2 separate regions of the Homo sapiens genome follow, and region 1 is linked to region 2. The links are contacts of gene promoters, found by promoter capture Hi-C in blood cells and fetal thymus (Javierre and others, 2016). All regions are on one chromosome and are shown on one strand. Each heading gives the region's core, a stretch centred on a gene start or on the middle of the fragment in contact. The rest is flanking DNA. Distances are from core to core; before and after follow the strand shown. Region 1 overlaps LOC105373836 (a long non-coding RNA gene). Region 2 holds the start of CFLAR-AS1 (CFLAR antisense RNA 1).

Evidence for each region. The method cuts DNA at HindIII sites, captures the fragments that hold promoters and counts their contacts. A CHiCAGO score of 5 or more calls a contact.
Region 1: a contact is called between a fragment that was not itself captured here and the fragment with the promoter of CFLAR-AS1 in region 2, in 6 of 17 cell types (neutrophils, megakaryocytes, activated CD4 T cells and 3 more). The highest score is 7.3, in neutrophils.

Annotation. Positions count from the first base shown.
Region 1 is chr2:201,104,215-201,108,726 of GRCh38, reverse strand. LOC105373836 (a long non-coding RNA gene) reads left to right here. Exons shown (of 3, transcript XR_923785.3): 2 at 588-683; 3 at 2,924-3,223. Among named protein-coding and RNA genes, the nearest start is that of CFLAR, 9.7 kb to the left of the region's middle. The HindIII fragment of the contact is 7,388 bases long and covers 1-4,512 here.
Region 2 is chr2:201,154,587-201,159,178 of GRCh38, reverse strand. It overlaps CFLAR-AS1 (CFLAR antisense RNA 1), which reads left to right and starts at 1,387. Exons shown (of 7, transcript NR_040030.1): 1 at 1,387-1,424. All of the region lies in intron 8 of CFLAR (CASP8 and FADD like apoptosis regulator), which reads right to left. RefSeq lists enhancers at 659-988, 1,009-1,088. The HindIII fragment of the contact is 4,248 bases long and covers 1-3,101 here.

The DNA of each region.
Region 1 (4,512 bases), core at 782-3,281, 51 kb after region 2:
GACTCCATCTCAAAAAAAAAAAAAAAAGGCATTTGAGTGTACAAAAAAGGTGTCACTAAACTAACTCAGTTTGTTTGTAAGATCCTTGGGGTCTAGTTATTTTCATCACAAATGTTAACAAGTTCATTTGGCTGGTTTCCTACGTTATAATGAGCTGAGAATTAGGAGCTTCCAGAGCTGGATCAGGAATAAGAAGTGGCAGCTGGTGATGAATGAAGCAAAATAATATGTGATGAAAGTGACAGAAAAATCATTTTCTGTCATGGCATCTCTCTGCCATGGACCAGTGCAGTAACAGATGCTTTCGGTCAGAGCTTGAGTCAGAAAAAGGTTAAAGAATGTTCTGTTCATGCTGTTTTAAGAGGGAGAAAAATATTTAATGCATTTTAGAAGGCTTTTTGTGAAAGATGATGCAAATGTTTTAAAAGGTTTAATTCTTATAGAGTTGAGTAATCTGGAAGATTCACTTAAATGATACCAAATAACTGGGAAAATATTGCCTTTGATTATTATTTATGCATAATAATGATAAATTCTGCAATAAGAACAATGTAAAATATAATGTATAATAAAAATGTTGCTTATAGGTTAAAGATGAGAACAAAAGGAAGATTTCAAGCTGGAATTGCAGAAGGAGGATTTGAGATTAATGCTGGGTCTGAAAATTGAGCAAAGGTGTAATGGTAAGATTGAGTGAGAGGAGATGGTGGTCTAAATGAAGGAATTATTGTTGAAAATGTTAAAAATGCAGCAGAATAGCCTGGGCAAAATGGTGAGACTTTGTCTCTACAAAAATTACAAAAATTAGCCAGATGTGGTGGCTTGAGCGTGTGGTTCCAGCTACTTGGGAGGCTGAGGTGGGAGGATCACCTGAGCCCGCCTGGGAGGTTGGGGCTGTGGTGAGCCATGATTGCACCACTGCACTCCTGCCTGGGCAACACAATGAGACCCTGTCTCAGAAAAAAAAAAAAAGTGCAGCAGAGTAAATTCCTGTTTGATCAACTTCTTACAATGAATGTTTACAGCCCTTGCTGGGTTAGAAAATCAGCTTGAAAACATACTTTGTATATTTATTTTGAGTCTATGTGTACTTAGTCTAATTCATGCATTTATCCAGTAGACATTCACTGAATACCTACTAAGTGTCTGGCATCATTCTAGGTGCTGAGGGTGTCTCTAAGAACAAAACTAGCTGTGCCCTCAAAGAGATCCTAGAATGTAGACTACTAAGAATTAACAGAGAAAACACTAAAACTTGTATGCTTATTAATCACTGTGTAAGTAATAAATGGAGGTCTCATTTAGATAAAACAAAAGCCTTGCGATCTCCATTAGTCAGAGTAATATAGATTTGCTGGGCATAGTGGCATGAGCCTGTCGTCCCAGCTACTCAAGAGGCTGAGCTGGGAAGATGGCCTGAGCTTGGAAGGTCGAGGCTACAGTGAGCTGTGATTGCACCACTACACTCCAGCCTGAAAGACAGAGTGAGTCCCTGTCTCAGAAAAAAAAAAAAAAAGTAATATAGATTTGATACAGTAGACAGTGTGGCGTAGCAGAAAGAACATGGGCTGTGAAGTCAGAGATCTGAGTTCAAATTTTGACTCTGAGACTTAATAAATATCTGTGTGACTGTAGCCAAGTTAATGAATCTCTCTGAACCTAATTTTTCTTATAATAGAGATAGTGAATACCTTCTTGTTTAAGGAATAAATGAGATAATAGAGATAATACCTTCTTGTATAAGGAATAAATGGAATAATATGTGTAGTGATGGTAGATCAAGGCTATGAAGAACTGGGCATGCTTTGCTTTGGTGAGAGCATTGGTTTAGCTTTGGGGAGGGCCCATAACTGTTGGGGGCATAAAAGGAAGAAGAGGGTTTTGTTTTTGTTTTTGAGATGGAGTTTCACTCTTGTTGCCCAGGCTGGAGTGCAGTGGCACAGACTCAGGTCACTGCAACCTCCACCTCCCGGGTTCAAGTGTTTCTTCTGCCTCAGACGCCCAAGTAGCTGGGATTACAGGCACCTGCCACCACGCTGGCTAATTTTTTGTATTTTTAGTAGAGATGGAGTTTCACCATGTTGGCCTGGCTGGTCTCGAACTCCTGACCTCAGGTGATCCACCCGCCTCGGCCTCCCAAAGTGCTGGGATTACAGGCATGAGCCACCACGCCTGGCAGAGAAGAGTTATTTTGGAGATAAGAGGATAAATGTCAGTTACAGGGAAATGGAAATTTTGGTATAGCCTGTACATTAGACACTATTGTGTATGTTAAATTTCATGGGTATTGTCTTAATTCATTTGGGCTGATATGATAAAATACCATAGACTAGGTAGCTTATAAACAACAGAAATTTATTTCTAACACTTCTGGAGCTGGGAAATCCAAGATCACTGGCAGATTCAGAGTCTGGTGAGGGCCTGCCTTCTGGCTTATAGATGTGGTCATCTTCTCACTGTGCCCTCATATGGTAGAAGGGGCAAGGGAGCTCTCTATGATCTCTTTTATAAGGGCACTAATCCCATTCATGAGGGTTCCACCCTCATGACCTTTTCATCTCCCAAAGGCCTCACCTCCAAATGCCATCACACTGGGGATTAGGTTTCAACATATGAGTTTCAGGGGGAAACATTCAGTCTATTGCAGGTATGATAGTGATATTGTGATCATGTAGGAGAATGTCTTTGTTCATAGAAAACACACACTGAAGAATCTAGGGGTAAAGTATCATGATGTCTGCACATTACTGTCAATGATTCAGCAAAGTGTGTGTGTATGTGTGTGTCTAGAGAGAGAGATAAAGTAAATGTGGCTAAATGTTAACAATTGGTGTCTGTAGGTAAAGGGTATATGTGTATTCTTTAAATTTTCTGGTTTTCAGGTTTTGTTTTGTTTGAGACAAAGTCTCTCTCTGTCACCCAGGTTGCAATGCATTGGCACGATCTCAGCTGACTGCAACCTCCATCTCCCGGGTTCAAGCAATTCTCATGCCTCAGCCTTCCGAGTAGCTGGGACTACAGGTGTGTGCTACCATGCCCAGCTAATTTTTGTATTTTTAGTAAAGACAAGATTTTGCCATGTTGGCCAGGCTGGTCTCGAACTCCTGGCCTCATGTGATCTACTCACCTAGGCTTCCCAAAGTTCTGGGATTATAGGCGTGAGCCACCACACCCGGCCTGGTTTTCAGGTTTGAAAATAAAAAGTTGGAAAAATATCTACACATGATTCTGTATTCCCCCAATTGTATTTGGGATACAATGTAAGACTTTTCATGCACATAATTTTCCTTAAAAATCTTATCTTGAGGTTTTTTTGGGGGGGCAGAAATATGAACAATTTCTGTGCAAATATTAGTCAAAAACACCATATCCAGAGAAAAATACATTCCCTGATGTTTGATAAAAACAAAGATACATTCCACTTGGAAGACATTTATCAGGGAGGTGCTTTGCACCTCCTGTGTGACTGCATATGAATTTTTTTTACTTTTTATTTTTATCCCCTTGATTAATCTATTTTGTTTGTTTGTTTGTTTTTTGAGACAGGGGCTCCCACTGTTGCTCAGGCTAGAGTGTAGTAGCATGATCATGGCTCACTGCCACCTAGACCTCCCAGGCTCAAGGAATCCTCAGTAGCTGGGGCTACATGCACATGCCACCATTCCCAGCTAATTTTTTATTATTTGTAGAGACAGGGTCTCACTATGTTGCCCAGGCTGGTCTTGAACTCCTGGGCTCAAGCAGTCCTCCTGCCTTAGCCTCCCAAAGTGCTGGGATTACAGGTGTGAGCCACTGCACCCTGCCTGCTTTATTCTTTGCAAATGGTAAGGCCATGTAAATCTAAGAATGTGGAAAAGCCTAAATGCAGTATACACAACCATCTGTGGTTCTGTTGAATTTACATGTTCTGCTCTGGCAAGCTGGAGTAACAGGGACTGGTGTATCCTCCTGCCTGAAACAACTGAAAAACCATGTAGACAAAATGTCTACCTGCATTCTAGCCTGGGCAAGTAGCAAGACTCCATATCTTAAAAAAAAATACAAAAGAGCAAAGAACCAGGAAAAGATCACTCATATGAGGACAATAACAATCAATCAATCAATAGAATTACACCCAGAAATGCCATAGGTAATAGAATTAGTATATTTGCCTTGGCTTTTGAGGTGAGGTAAAACAAACAAGCAAAATAATTAGTAGATAGGGATACTAAAACAGATTCTATAGCCATATTTCAATAAGATAGAGGAAAGACTGAGCATGTTAAGTTGAGACATGGAAGATATAAAGACTCGTATTAAAACTATAGATGGGGCCAGATGCAGTGGCTCACACCTGTAATCCCAGCACTTTGAGAGGCCAAGGTGGGAGCATCGCTTGAGGCCAGGAGTTTGAGATCAACCCAGGCAATAAACAGATATCTCATCTTTACAAAATAAAAAAATTAACTGGGCACGGTGGCACACACTCTCAGCTATTCAAGAGGTTGAAACAGAAGGACTCCTTGAGGCCAA
Region 2 (4,592 bases), core at 138-2,637:
CAACCAGCCCCAGTGGCTCACATCTGTAATCCTAGCACTTTGGGAGGCCGAGACGGGCAGATCACCTGAGGTCAGGAGTTCGAGACCAGTCTGGCCAATATGGTGAAACCCCGTCTCTACTAAAAATACAAAAATTAGCCAGGCGTGGTGGTGCTCACCTGTAATCCCAGCTACTAGGGAGGCTGAGACAGGAGAATTGCTTGAACCCGGGAGGCAGAGGTTGCAGTGAGCCAAGATTGCGCCACTGCACTCCAGCCTGGGCAACAGAGCAGAACTCCGTCTCAAATTCAAATAATAATAATAATAATAATAATAATAATAATAATGATGAGGGCAAATGCCGTTACAGGATCTCTGGGTAGCTGTTATCAGGACTGTAATTTTGCACAGCCTTTTTGAAGAGCAATTTGGGAGTATCATTAAATTTTAAATGTGTATACCCTTTATAAAAAAAAGAAAACTCTGTGTGGTAGAAGAGGCCTGGACGCACTGTCCCCTAGCCATCTCCTCTGAGGGTGCAGGCTTGTTTCGATACCCAGTGCTGAATCCAGGCTGAACAAGGAGAGAACCTGGACTAGGACTCCAGTTCCATCACTGCTATTCTATTCCAAAGGACTCACACGTCTCTAATCATGGAGTATTTGCTCCTCCAGGGGGCAGAAGCAAACAGGGAAACACCAGACTCAAAGCTCTTTTGTGTACTTATCTCAAGATTGGTTCACTTCCCTCAAAACCTCTCTTCACTGATAAATGTCCTTCCTTATCAAACAAAGTCCTTGAAAGAAAACTTCACCACATTCTCCCTGCCCATGCTGATATGTAAGGCTTGGACAGAACAAATGCTGTACTGTGCCTTCCAGCTCTTTCCTTTATTTGTGCTCCCTGGAGGTTCTGGCTGGGGAAGCCCCTGTCACATGACTGTGAGCAGACAGCTGTGTGGTGCAGGGCAAAAGAGGAACCAGCCTTGGAATCACAAGATGTGGGTTTAAGTCCTAGTTCCTCCATCTCCTCCTACTAGGGTCTGAATCTTGCATGGTCTTGGAAGAGACTGAGCTATAACAGCAGAGAAGCTAGGAAGGAAATGGGAATCTGAGGTCTGGGGCAGAAAATCCTTACCTAAAAGAACAGAAGAAAAATGGCTAAAGCTGGAGGTGAAGCCAAAAACCATGCAGGTCCCAAGTGCCAATAAGAATAGCAGGTCTGAGCCTCAGACAAGACACAGCATTGCTTAAATATCCTGTGGCAAGGGAGTCACTCCACAGGCCCAGCCTGAAGACATTACCGCTGACATTTCCCATTAACGTCACAATTTTCCTCTATGAGGTGGTGAGGTGGAGTGGGAAGGGCTGTTAGCTGGCACTTGCAACTTTATTGCGCCAGCAAGAACATGCATACAGCCCAGTCTAACGTACAGGATCAAAAAGGTAATGACAGTGTGACTTTGAGTCAGTTTGAGTCAGCCCCAGTTTATTCATCTATAAAACAAGATTAAAACTAATGCTTGGCCAGGTGCAGTGGCTCACACCTACAATCCCAGCACTTTGGGAGGCTGAGGTGGGAGGATGGCTTGAGCTCAGGAGTTTGAGACCACCCTGGGCATCACAGGGAACCCCGTCTCTACAAAAAATAAAAAAACTAGCCAGGCATGGTAGTACAAGCCTGTAGTCATCACAGCTACTCAGGAGGCTGAGGCAGGAGGATCTCTTGAGCAGGAGGTTCTTCAAAAGGTGACTGTGAGGGCAGGGTACAGTGGCTCATACCTGTAATCCCAGCACTTTGGGAGGCCAAGGCGGGTGGATTGCTTGAGCTGCAGAGTTTGAGACCAGCCTGGGCAACATGGCGAAACCCCATCTCTACCAAAAATACAAAAATTGGCTGGGCATGGTGGCACGCATCTGTGGTCCCAGCTACTTGGGAGGCTAAGGAAGGAGGATCACTCGAGCCCAGGAAGTGGAGGAGCCAAGATCGCTCCACTGCACTCCAGCCTGGGTGAAAGAGTGAGACTCTGTCTCAGAAAAAAGGTGACCGTGAGGATCCAATGAGATTTCTGTAAAGATGCTTTGCAAACTGTGTTTATTCAAATATAAGATATTGACTTTAAAGGAAATAAAGGCAGCCATTTCAAAGTACAAATCACCAACCTTATGGTGTTGCACATCTCTCATGGAATCTCTCTCTTAGGACCTGGAGGGAGGTCTCTATATTCTAAACTAAAATGGGCTCAGAGCAGACAGAGTCCATATCCTATGTAGGTAGGACAGTAACTGTTTTGTCCTTGCACATAAATAGAGGAAGAAAAACTTGGGGGCTGGGTTTGGAAAATAAAATTTCAACAAACTACAGAAGACCCACTTCTCCTTCTAGAACCCACCCTGGAAATCCCACACTCAACCCAGTCTGATCTCCGTAAATTTCAACTGTTCTTTAGAACTTCTGGAAATGATGTGGGGGGGTGGGGAGGGGAAGGGCAGGGGTTCTTCTGGCCTTGCAGTTAGTACAGGGCTGTTCATTCAAGGCTAGGGTCAGCACTACTCACAGGTTTGAGGACTTCACAGATAAACCAAAAAAACCAAAATACAGTAAAATGTCATGACTTCATTAATTTAGAATTTGTTTTGATCTAAATGAGGATACATTTATCTTGACAATTTCTATGAAAAGGGCTTCATTAAATAAATGTATAAAATAAACAAGAATGAGGGAATGCTTCACCAGTTAATTTACAATCACATATTGAGTACCTTTAATAAGCCCAGTGTTAACTGCTATAGAGCACATGGGTAAAACATAAGATGGGCAAAACATTCTTAGTGAAAAAGGGAGTTCTGAGGTCAAACGTGTTTGGGAAATGCAAGGTGGACAAGGCTAAAATAGGTTTCTTCGCAGGAAGAATTCTCAGAGCCTTTAATAGGTCAATATGCATTGCAAATCTCTGAGGGGGAAGAGATTAGGCAGCGCTTCTCAAATTTACTTGACCGGAAAACTCTTGTTTTACAAAGTTCCCCTTATTGCCTACAGAAACACTTGGACAAGAGAATACATATCAAATATATGATGTACTTCAATCAAAGAGCTTATAATCTTGTTGGGGAAGCAAAGCTTATAAATACGCATAAAACAAAGATTACGTGGTGGCTCATGGCCATAATCCCAGTGCTTTGGGAGGCCAAGGCAGGAAGATCACTTGAAGCCAGGAGTTCAAGACCGCCCTGGGAAATACAGCAAAAGACCCTGTCTCTATAAAAAACAAAGTTAGCCAGACATGATAGCATGTGCCTGTAGTCCCAGCCACTCAGGAGGCTGAAGTGGGAGGATTGCTTCAGCCCAGAAGTTTGAGACCAGCCTGGGCAACATAGTGAGACCCTGTCTCTACAGAATATTTTAAAAATTAGATGGATGTGGTGGCGCCTGTGTGTAGTTCCAGCTACTTGGGAGGGTGAGGTGAGAGGATTGCTTGAGCCCGGGAGGTGAAGGCTGCAGTGAGCCATGATTGTACCCCTGTGCTCCATTCTGGGTGATAGAGCAAGACCCTGTCTCAAAAAAGAAAAGGAAAGTACAGAAAAATGTTCAAGCTTTTCAGAAAGAGCAGGATAGAAAAAAAAAATACTTCCTCTTGGCCAGGTGCGATGGCTCATCCCCGTGATCCCAGCACTTTGGGAGGCCGAGGCGGGCGGATCACCTGAGGTCAGGAGTTCAAGACTAGCCTGGCCAACATGGTGAAACCCCATCTCTACAAAAATACAAAAATTAGCCGGGCATGATGGCGGGTGCCTGTAATCCCAGCTACTCAGGAGGCTGAGGCGGAGAATCGCTTGAACCCGGGAGACAGAGGTTGCAGTGAGCCAAGATAACGCCATTGCACTCCAGTAGCCTGGGTGACAGAGCGAGACTCTGTCTCAAAAAAAAAAAAAACTTCCTCTTAAAATCTGCAAACATCGTCTTTTATTTTTATTCAAGGGCCTTAAAAACAACCAGAGCTTTAGGCCAAGCCGTAAAGCCCATCTGTCAGAGATGTGAGACGCTTGCTTCTATATTCCTAACAAGATAAAAGTCCAGTGCTTAAAGATGACCCACCAGGGCCTAGCACAGGTCCAGCTTTGCTGTCACTGACACAGATGACACAACACCAAAGACTTATTTTTCAATTCTACCAAACTGAGATAATTAGTTCCCAAATCCCTGAGCATTTACTTCTGCCTCAAGAAGAGGTTACTGAACTCCATAAGAATTCTTCTCAAGAAAGAACTACCAAAGAATAACCTTATTTCATGCACAACACAGCTCTGAGATCAGACTCCACCTCATTGCCTTAATATTTGCTTCACACAGGGCCAAGCATGGTGCTTTGCACATAGTAGGCCCTCAACGAACATTTACTGGACAAACAAAGAAATAAAGCTTTAAATACTTGGGGGACTTGCATGCTTTTTGGATAAAAGTCTGGTTTTTTGAGGAGAGAAGGGAAGATAGGTAGAAGAGAGTCTGCTAAACTCTAAAGATAAAAAGGAATGGCTTTTAGAAACACACTGACACTGGGAGAGCTTATTCCTTCATTCATTCACCCAACAATTATTTATTGAACACCTACATAG